Linked DNA regions of Homo sapiens: all the other regions are linked to region 2. The links are contacts of gene promoters, found by promoter capture Hi-C in blood cells and fetal thymus (Javierre and others, 2016). All regions are on one chromosome and are shown on one strand. The core of a region is centred on a gene start or on the middle of the fragment in contact, and the rest is flanking DNA. Distances in the headings are between cores, read along the strand shown.

Region 1 (3,337 bases), core at 279-2,778, 130 kb before region 2:
ACAGGCGCCCGCCACTACGCCTGGCTAATTTTTGTATTTTTAGTAGAGACGGGATTTCACCGTGTTAGCCAGGATGGTCTCGATCTCCTGACCTCGTGATCCGCCCGTCTCGGCCTCCCAAAGTGCTGGGATGACAGACGTGAGCCACCGCGCCCGGCCACCATCACCATTTTCAAAATAATGAACGTATTTGTCACCCCTAAATTTCCCCTGCCCATTCGTAATTCCTCCTTTTCATGTTTCCCCATCTCCAGCCATCACTGATCTGCTTTCTGCCACTGTAGTTTACATTGTCCACAATTGTAGATCAGTTGAATCATGTTCATTTTTGTCTGTTTTTCTTTACTCAGCATAATTATTTTGAGACTTATCTACGTTGGTGTGTGTATCAATTCGTTCCAAAGTATTTATCCATTCACTGTTGAAAGCTTCTATGAACATTCTTAACTGTTTCTGTGGACATATGCTTTCATTTATGTCTTGTGTAAATACCTAGGAGTTGAATGGATGTGTTCTGTGGTAGGTGTATGCTTAATTTTTAAAGGAACTGCCAGCTGTTTTCTGAAATGATTGTACCACGTTCCCTTCCCCTCCAGCCCTACGTGAGAGTTCCACTTGCTCCCGCATTGTCACTAGCACTTAGTGTGGCCAGTCTTTTCAATTTTAGCCATTCTAGTGGGTTCATAGTGGTATTTCTTTGTGGCTTTGATTTGCATTTTACTCATAATGTCGAGCATCTTTTCATGTGTTTATTTGCCAGTTTTTGTGACATTGGGCATCTTTGTCAAATCCAGGTATTTTTCCTGTTTTTTTCCCCCTGGAAATGTTATAGCATTAGTTTTTACTTTTCACTCTGTGATGCATTTAAAATTAATTTTTTCTACATTACAAGAAGTAAGGGCCTCAATTATTACTATCGTTCATACTTGCATATGGCTATTAAATTATTTCAGCAATATCTATTGAAAAGATTGTTCTTTACCCAACGAATTTGTATTGGCACCATTGTCAAATTCAATTGATTACATATGTGTGGATCAATTTCTGGAATCTCTATTGGTCAATTTTTTTCCCCTTCCATCAATACCATACTGTCTTTATTACTATAGCTTTTCTGAGCTTCATTTTTTCATATATAAATTTTAGCATCTTCAAATCAGTATAAGTCTTCTAATCTTGTGTTGGGTTTTTCCCCCCCAAAGTTGTTTCAGCTATTCTGTCTTTACATTTCTATAAAAATTTTAAAATCAGCTTATCAACTTCTACAAAAAACATGCTGGGATTTCAGCCGAACAGCATTGAGTCCTTTGATTTATGAACATAGCCTGTATCTCCATTCATTTAGCTTTGTTTTCATTTCTCTCACCTTAGTAGTAGTTTTAGTGAGCAGGTCCTGCACATTTTTATAGATATAATCTCATACATTCGTTTGCTCCTCTTTTATCAATTCCAATCAAAATAAGATTTGTTTGAATTGAAAATAAGTTACCTTCTTTACTGCCTTTCTGTTTTTGCACAAACTCTGACAAAAAGTTAGAGTATCTGACTTTTTATATATATATATTTCTATATAATATATATATTTATCTATAATATATAATATTTATATATAAATATATATATTTATCTATAATGTATAATATTTATATATAAGATATATATTTATATATAATATATAATATTTATATATAATATTTCTGATGATGCTGTAAATGGTATTGTTTTTTATTTTAATTTGTTTTTATGCTAGTATAAAGAAACACAATTGATTTTTGTATATTGATTTTGTGTCCTGCATCCTTGCTGAACTAATTTATTAATTCTCACAAACATTAGGGTTTTTTATGAAATTTATTATGGATTTTCTATTACAGGATTATGCCATCTATAAGTAAAGATAAATTAACTTCTTCCTTTTCAATCTGGATACCTTTTATTTCTTTTTCTTTCCTTATTGCTCCATCTAGAACCTTTAGTACAATGTTGAATAGAAGTGGTAGACTGGTCATCTTTGCCTTTTCCTGATGTCAGGGGGAAAGCATTCAGTCTTTCACCATTAAGTCTAACATTAAGTGTAGGTTTTGTATAGCTATCCTTTATCAAGTTGAGGAAAATTTCTTCTACTCCTGGTTTTCTGAGAGTTTATATTAGGAAAAAGTGTTGGATTTTGTCAAATGCTTTTCCTGTATCTATTGAGACGATCGTATGATTTTTATTTTTCCATTAACATGTTGAATTACATTGATTAATTTTAGATTATTAAACCGAAATAAAATAAATAACGCAAACTAAACCTCACAGTCCTGGGTTGAATGTCACTATGTTATGCTGTGTTATCCTTTTTATACATTGCTGGAGTTTATTTGCTAAAAATTTTTAAAGGAATTTTTGTGTCTATATTCATAAAAGATATTGGTCTGTGGTTTTTCCCAGTAAAGTCTTGGTTTGGTTTTGGTATTGGGGTACTGAGTGGAAAGTATTACCATTATTTTAATTTTTTGAAAGAGCTTGTGTTAACTTTTATTATTTTTTTTAATTAAACATTCAGTATAATTTACCAGCAGAGCCATCTAGGCCTGGAGGTTTGTTTTTTGGTTTGTTTGTTTTGTTTTGTTGTGGGAAGCTTTTATACTGCAAATTCAATTTTTAAAATAAATTTAGGACTATTCAGGTTATTTACTTTTTCTTGAGTAAAATTTAATAGTTTTCATCTTTCAAGAAACTTTTTCATTCATAAAGTTGTTCATATTTTCTTATTATCCTTTTAATACCTGCAGAATCTGTAGTGGTGTCACCTCTCTCATTCCTAATATTCGTGTTTTACTTCCTTTGTCCTGACCTGACTAGAAGTTTATCAACTTTATTGATGTTCCCAAAGAAACAGCTTTTGGTTTCATTGATTTTCTATATTTTTCTTCTGTTTCCAGTTTTATTTATTTCTGTTCTTATCTTTATTATTTCCTTTTTTCTGCTTATTTGAGTTTAATTTGCTGGGTTTTTTTCTTGTTTCTTAAGGTAGAAGCTGAGGTCCTTAATTTGAAGTATTCTTTTATAACGCATGCATTTAGTGCTAAATATTTTTTTCTAAGTACTCCTTTAGCTGTATTTCACACATTTTGATCTGTTGTGTTTTCATTTTTATTTTGTGCAAAATACTTTCCAATTTTTTGATACCTTCTTTGATACATGGATTATTTGGAGTATGTTATTTAGTTACTAAATATTTGCAGATTTCCCAAGTATATTTCTCTTATTTGTTTTTAATTTAATTCTATTATGAAAATTAAATAGAACATATTTTGTGTTATTTGAATCCTTGTAGATTTTCTTGAACTTG
Region 2 (3,313 bases), core at 441-2,940:
TTACAGATGGGGCAAAACTTGATCGAGTTTCACAGAAAAGCAGAAGGAACTTCAGTGAAGAAGTGGTCGCCTGCTCCCTGAATCCAAGCACTGCCCAGCTACACCAGGCACTGGTGGGAAGAAACTGGGCTGCAGCTGGATCCTTCAAGGAGCAGCTTTGTGTATGCAAATGCCTATTTCAGTACCCTTAGAACTGTATAAATGATCACACACAAGATGCACCTCATAAATTAACTGCCATTTATATAGAAGTAACATAGGCTTCTGTTCATTACTTTCAATCATAGAATAGTAATAGAATAGGCTGCAAATTAAAAACCAGTGTGCACCAATAGTATATAGCACCAGCAATCCAGTTTTTTTTGTTTTTTTTTTTTTTGAGACAGAGTTTCGCTCCCAGGCTGGAGTGAAGTGGCGCAATCTCTGCTCACTGCAACCTCCGCCCCCCGGGTTCAAGTGATTCTACCGCCTCTGCCTCCTAAGTAGCTGGGATTGCAGCCAACATGCCCGGCTAATTTTTGTATTTTTAGTAGAGGCGGGGTTTTGCCACGTTGGCCAGGCTAGTCTCCAACTCCTGACCTCAGGCGATCGACCCGCCTTGGCCTCCCAAAGTGCTGGGATTACCGGCGTGAGCCACCGCGCCGGGCCCCATTTCTTTTCTTTCTGAGACGGAGTCTCTCTGTCGCCAGGCTGGAGTGCAATAGCGCCATCTCGGCTCACTGCAATCTCCGCCTCCCGGGTTCAACTGATTCTCCTGCCTCAGCCTCCTGAGAAGCTGGGATTACAGGCACGCGCCACCACGCCCGGCTGGTTTTTTGTATTTTTAGTAGAGACGGGGGTTTCACCATGTTGGCCAGGCTGGTCTTGAACTCCTGACCTCAAGTGATCCGCCTGCCTCGGCCTTCCAAAGTGCTAGGATTACAGGCGTGAGCCACCCATTTCTTAAAAAGTATATTTTAATGCTGGGGACGGTGGCTCATGCCTGTAATTCCAGTACTTTGGGAGGCCGAGGTGCGGGGATGCTTGAGCCCAGGAGTTGGAGACCAGCCGGGGTAACAGAGCGATAAAAAGAATAAACAAAAAACAACAGAACCCCGGCATATTTTTAAAAATGAGTTGTGTAATAGGATTTTTTTTTTTTCGGTGGAGATGTAAGTAAGCAAAGGAGATGTGCTACTAGTGATCAAAAGGGGATTATAAAACATTCATTCCCTAGACTTTTTTTGCACTTTAACATTCCTTTTTGGCAATTGGGCTCTCAGTCCCACGTGACCTGCCGCAGGGTTGCCATGGGGACCGGAAGAAACTTTTTTTTTTTAAAACAAAGTAAGGCTCCTGTCGCCCGAGGCACTAGAAAATCGAGGCCCCGCCCTCACTTGGCCAGGGGCCCGGGCGCGCAGCCCAGGGACTGGGAGCGGTGAGAAGCCGCACGCCTGGCGCTCGGCGGCGGGGGCGCGGCGCGCGGCCGGGAGCGCGCGTCACGTGGCTGGGGCGGGGCCTGCGCGCTGCCCGCCCGCCAGCTGCCGGCTCGGCCGCCGCAGCCGCGGCGTCCCATTCATGAGGGCCGCCCGACTCAGCTGCGGCCCAGGCGGCTTCCAAGGCAGCGGCGGCTGCGGGCGCTCCGACCCCGCGCGCGCCCCCGACCGGCCCCGCCCCCTCGGCTTCCCTCCCCGGCGGGTCCTAGCCGTCGCAGTCCAGCCGCCGCCTGCCCTCAGCCGCCCGCTGGCCGGGAGCGGAGCCCCTGTGGGTAAGTGGGCGCGGGCCGGGCTCCTCGCAGGCGTCCCTCCGGGGCTGGCGGTGAGTGTCTGCGCCTGGGGGCTTCCCTTGGCGCGGGCCCGGGGCTGTCCTGCCGGAGGCCGGGACCCTCCGGGGCGGCGCGGGTTGAGCCGCCCCTCCTCGCGCCGCGGTCCCCGCTTCCCGGTCCTCGCGTCCCAGTCCCCGCCTCGCCGCGACCGCGCCACGTAGACGCGGCCCCTACCGCCGCCGCCGCAGGACGGACCGGCGGGGTGCGCGGGGAGCCGGGGGCGTCGGGGCGTCAGTGGTGGCTGCTGAGGACTCTGAACCCGCGCAGTTCCCTCGCCGCCGCCCTGGGGATGGTTACCCGAGACCACCCCTACCCCTGGGTTTGGGGCGCGGAGGGGAGTGCGGAAGGCGCGCGGGAGGCCGCGTCTCCATCCCGCCCCCGGCCCTGCGGGAGGGGGCGCCGGGCACGTGATCTGCGGCGAGGCGGGGGCCGCCGAGTTGCTGGTGTTTCTTCCCCGCCGCGCTTTGCCCCGTACCTCCGCCTTCAAGCTGTGTGGACCGGATTCAAATGTGGTTAGTTTTCTCAAAGCCCCCCAGCCCCCGGTGCAGATCTTAATTTGTGAGGAACACGTTCAGATACAGTTTGTACTGAGAGCCTCTCTGTCCACTTCTAACGCCAGCGGATCACCATTTTCTCCACTCGCCTGAACATTTTAAGACTCTTTTCATTGAAAATTCAAGATGACATTTTTTAGGCATAATTATGCAAACCAGTACCAGAAAGATCACCCTTCCTTTCCGAAAAGTACTGGAACTCTGAATACTTGGAAATGCTTTGAAGGACTACTTAGTAAATGGCCAAACTAATTTTTAATGCACATTTGGGGCTTACCCATTTTTTTTTTAATTGAAAACGAGGCTCTAGACTTGGTGTCAAGGTAGGTCCTGTTGAATGAAGTTCTTTACCCAGTAGTGATGATGGGTGTTACTGTTTATTAAAACTTGGCCTGGCTAGATTATAATGTTTTGACAATACAAAGTCGGTTTTGAAATACATTTTGAAATATTTACGAATTATTTAGTGGCCCATACTGGTTTATGTTTTAACGGTCTGGTGTTGATCGTTCTTAGTGGCTTCAGATTGAGAAGAAGTGGCAGGTGATGCTGAAGCGGGGGAGAAGCGGCAGAGCCGGCCACACAGTGCAGGGGATGGAGACAGGTGCTGGGCTGGTCCTCCTGCAGCATCCTCAGTTGTTGGAGGGCAGTCATCCTCAGGCCGTACCCAGCCAGAGAAGAAAAAGAACAGTGTGAAGCCACGTGTGATAGCCGTCCAACATCGGCTCTTCCCTCCAATTACATTGTAGTTGATTGTGGTATGTCAGACTGAAGTATCTCTTTTATTTCGAGACAGAGTCTCACTCTGTCGCCCAGGCTGGAGTGTAGTTGCGCGATCTCCGATCACTGCAATCTCTGCCTCCTCTGTTAAAGCGATTCTTGTGCCCCAGCCTCCCGAGTAGCTGGGATTACAGGCATGAGCCACCACACTCAGCTAATTTTTGTATTTTTATTA
Region 3 (3,241 bases), core at 297-2,796, 130 kb after region 2:
TTTCATAAGAAAACCTAGGCTGCATTTATTGTGACTGAACTTAAAAAGATGAAGTGATGGCCAGGCACAGTGGCTCACGCCTGTAATCCCAGCACTTTGGGAGGCCGAGGTGGGCAGATCACTTGAGGTCAGGAGTTGGAGACCAGCCTGGCCAACATGGTGAAACCCCATCTCTACCAAAAGTACAAAAATCAGCCGGGCATGGTGGCAGGCGCCTGTAATCCCAGCTACTCGGAGGCCAAGGCAGGAGAATTGCTTGAACCAGGTAGGCAGAGGTTGCAGTGAACCGAGATTGCGCCACTGCACTCCAGCCTGGGCGACAGAGCGAGACTCCATCTCAAAAAAATAAAAAATAAAAAACAATTTTAACCCCCCTAAATTCAGATGTATGGGCCCAAGTAAAAACAAACAGTACATCATTACATCTGAATCTCTTCACAGCTGTGCCTCCAGGTGACACAAGTCTGAACCCACTGGCATTTCCTACCCTGATGTTTAAGGCATTGGCTTTCACAACAAGCTGGCCCTAGCAAAGCAATTTACTTGCAAGGAAGTTTGTCTTACAATTGCTACTGCTCCTGAGAATAAATTTGTCACATGTGGCTACTGCAGGTATCTATGTGTGTTATTCGAAGGCCATTCAAAGCTCACCATTGTAAAGCACAAATCCTGTTGTTTGAAGGAGCACCGGAAATATTAAAGGTGGCCATACATAATAGCACAAATAAGAAGTTACCTGTGGCTTTCTTCAAGCTGTTTCGAGGCCGAGCCGGCGTGGGGCGGAGGGTCTTCACGGGGTCTTTGGGACCTTCTTGGCAATCTCCCCCTCTAAAGCCAGGACAGCACCTCCATTCCAACTGTGTCACTGTCTTATACCTAGTGACATATCTAGGTCTGAAGTTCACTCGATACCTGTGGACAGAAGGGATGGCATCTCTCTTTACTGGCTGCCGTTACAAGCAACTTCCGGCGCTAGACCCAAATAAAGAGGACTCAGGGCATGCAGGACCCTGCCTGCTCTCCAGGCTGGCCCAGAGGGGATGTTGGTCTCCTCAGTCCAGATCTGACTGGGGGGTTCAGCCTAACTCAGATCAGCCTCAGGAAGGCAGGGGCTCCCCAATCCTCCACCTGCCCTGAGCACCCGTTTCCCAGCAAGGGGAACACACAGCTTAGAAAATCTCCACCAAGACTCCCATTTGAGAAGGATACTTTTCAGCCCCCAAACTGAGCTTTTGTTTCACCAAACTTCTGTTCTACAATTCAGTTTGTGGGGATTTGTTTCAGGTGTCACTAGAGATTGTTTTGTTTTGTGTTTTAAAGAAATATTCCTGGCCGGGCACAGTGGCTCATGCCTGTAATCCCAGCACTTTGGGAGGCTGAGGCCAGCAGATCACTTGAGGCCAGGAGTTCGAGACTAGCCTGGCTAACATGGTGAAATCTAGTCTCTACAAAAAATACGAAACTTAGCCAGGTGTTGTGGCGCATGCCTGTAGTCCCAGCTACCGCTGAGGCACGAGAATTGTTTGAATCCAGAAGGCGGAGGTTGCAGTGAGCTGAGATCACGCCATTGCACTCCAGCCTGGGAGACACAGCGAGACTGTCTCAAAAAAAAGAAAAAGAGGCTGGGCGCGGTGGCTCACGCCTGTAATCTGAGCACTTTGGGAGGCCGAGGCAGGCGGATCACGAGGTCAGGAGATCGAGACCATCCTGGCTAACACGGTGAAACCCCGTCTCTACTAAAAATACAAAAACATTAGCCGGGCGTGATGGCGTGCGCCTGTAGTCCCAGCTCCTTGGGAGGCTGAGGCAGGAGAATGGCGTGAACCCGGGAGGTGGAGCTTGCAGTGAGCCGAGATCGCGCCACTGCACTCCAGCCTGGGTGACAGAGCAAGACTCCAACTCAAAAAAAATAAAAAGAAAGAAAGAAACATCCCTGGCACCCTGCTCTCCATCATGTCTGTGTGTTTACCGCTGCACCTCCCTTTCCTGATGCTAGCAAAGGTAGCCACCAGCTTTTGCAGATGGCAGCTCACACTATTTGTGTCCACTTTTTACAAAGATGCCCTGGTTCATACTGTCAATGACAGAAATCAGGAAGCAGAATTGGAAGCACTCAAAAAGTCCTGTTGACAGTGCACATCCCCTCATGCCCTGGAATATCACACAGAGAGCTTTGCAGTGAGCTGGAAAGTCCTCCAGACTCAAGGCCGGGCCTGGGCCCACAACAGACTTTGACAGCCCTGCAGTCCCGGGCTCACCAGGGAAGGAGCCAGGAGTTCAGCCCCCGCAGCGGCCCCTGCTCACAGCACAGGCAAAAGCCACAGCCACACAGGATGGGGCCTCCCTACTTCAGCCCAATTGTGATTTCCTGCCTTGCAAATCATCTCTCTTGAAGCTCTTCAGCTCCTCTTCATTTCTTACACCAGCACCAGCAGCTGGCCTTCTTCTTGAGCCAATTCCCAGAAAGCAATAGGCTGAGTGTCACTTTTTCAGGGTTGCTGAGAGCTGCCCATGGGGGGAGGCGGGACAATAGCAGCAGCGGGGTTACCCAGCAAAGCAACTCCCTCCCAAGCACCAGCCCTGTGGCAGGTGGACTTCAAAGTTACCTCCCTGAGGAAAGCACAAATCATGTGCTGGACCTTTGACATCCTCCCCGAGGGTCACACACTGACAATTACACTCTGGGTATAGGATCCACCCCGCTGGGACTGGCTAGGCACCCTGCAGAATCCCAAGAGGGCCCTGCCGACAGCTAGGACCCGCCAAGCCCATTAGACCTCCTAGCACCTTCCACTGTCCCTGTTTCCTTTGGTTTTTGTTGTGTTTTTTGTTTTGTAGAGATAAGTATCACTTGGTCGCCCAGGCTGGAGTGCAGTGGTACAATCATGGTACACTGCAACCTCAAACTCCTGGGCTCAAGTGATCCTCCACCTCGGCCTCCCAAAATGCTGAGATTACAGGCACCATGCCTGGGTCATATTTTTTTTTTTTTGAGATGATGTTTCACTCTCGTTGCCCAGGCTGGAGTACAATGGCGCGATCTCGGCTCACTGCAACCTCTGCCTCCCGGGTTCAAGCGATTCGCCTGCCTCAGCCTCCCAAGTAGCTGGGATTACAGGCACCCACCACCATGCCTGGTTATTTTTTGTATTTTTAGTAGAGACATAGTTTCACCATGTTGGCTGGGCTGGTCTTGAACTCCTGACCTCAGGTGATCTACCCACCCTTTAGCCCCCAAAGT

The links. Contacts are between HindIII fragments. The CHiCAGO score rates a contact against its expected background, and 5 or more counts as called.
Region 1: a fragment that was not itself captured here is called in contact with the fragment with the promoter of LPIN2 in region 2 in 14 of 17 cell types (naive CD4 T cells, total CD8 T cells, activated CD4 T cells and 11 more); the score reaches 20.9 in naive CD4 T cells.
Region 3: a fragment that was not itself captured here is called in contact with the fragment with the promoter of LPIN2 in region 2 in 1 of 17 cell types (activated CD4 T cells); the score reaches 5.1 in activated CD4 T cells.

What each region holds. Positions count from the first base shown.
Region 1 is chr18:3,145,388-3,148,724 of GRCh38, reverse strand. The region is part of intron 13 of MYOM1 (myomesin 1); the gene reads left to right. Among named protein-coding and RNA genes, the nearest start is that of MYOM1, 73 kb to the left of the region's middle. The HindIII fragment of the contact is 2,195 bases long and covers 431-2,625 here.
Region 2 is chr18:3,011,521-3,014,833 of GRCh38, reverse strand. It overlaps LPIN2 (lipin 2), which reads left to right and starts at 1,690. Exons shown (of 20, transcript NM_001375808.2): 1 at 1,690-1,747. RefSeq lists a silencer at 1,300-2,249. The HindIII fragment of the contact is 8,581 bases long and covers 1-3,313 here.
Region 3 is chr18:2,882,635-2,885,875 of GRCh38, reverse strand. EMILIN2 (elastin microfibril interfacer 2) reads right to left here. Exons shown (of 8, transcript NM_032048.3): 3 at 737-912. Among named protein-coding and RNA genes, the nearest start is that of EMILIN2, 37 kb to the right of the region's middle. The HindIII fragment of the contact is 6,579 bases long and covers 1-3,241 here.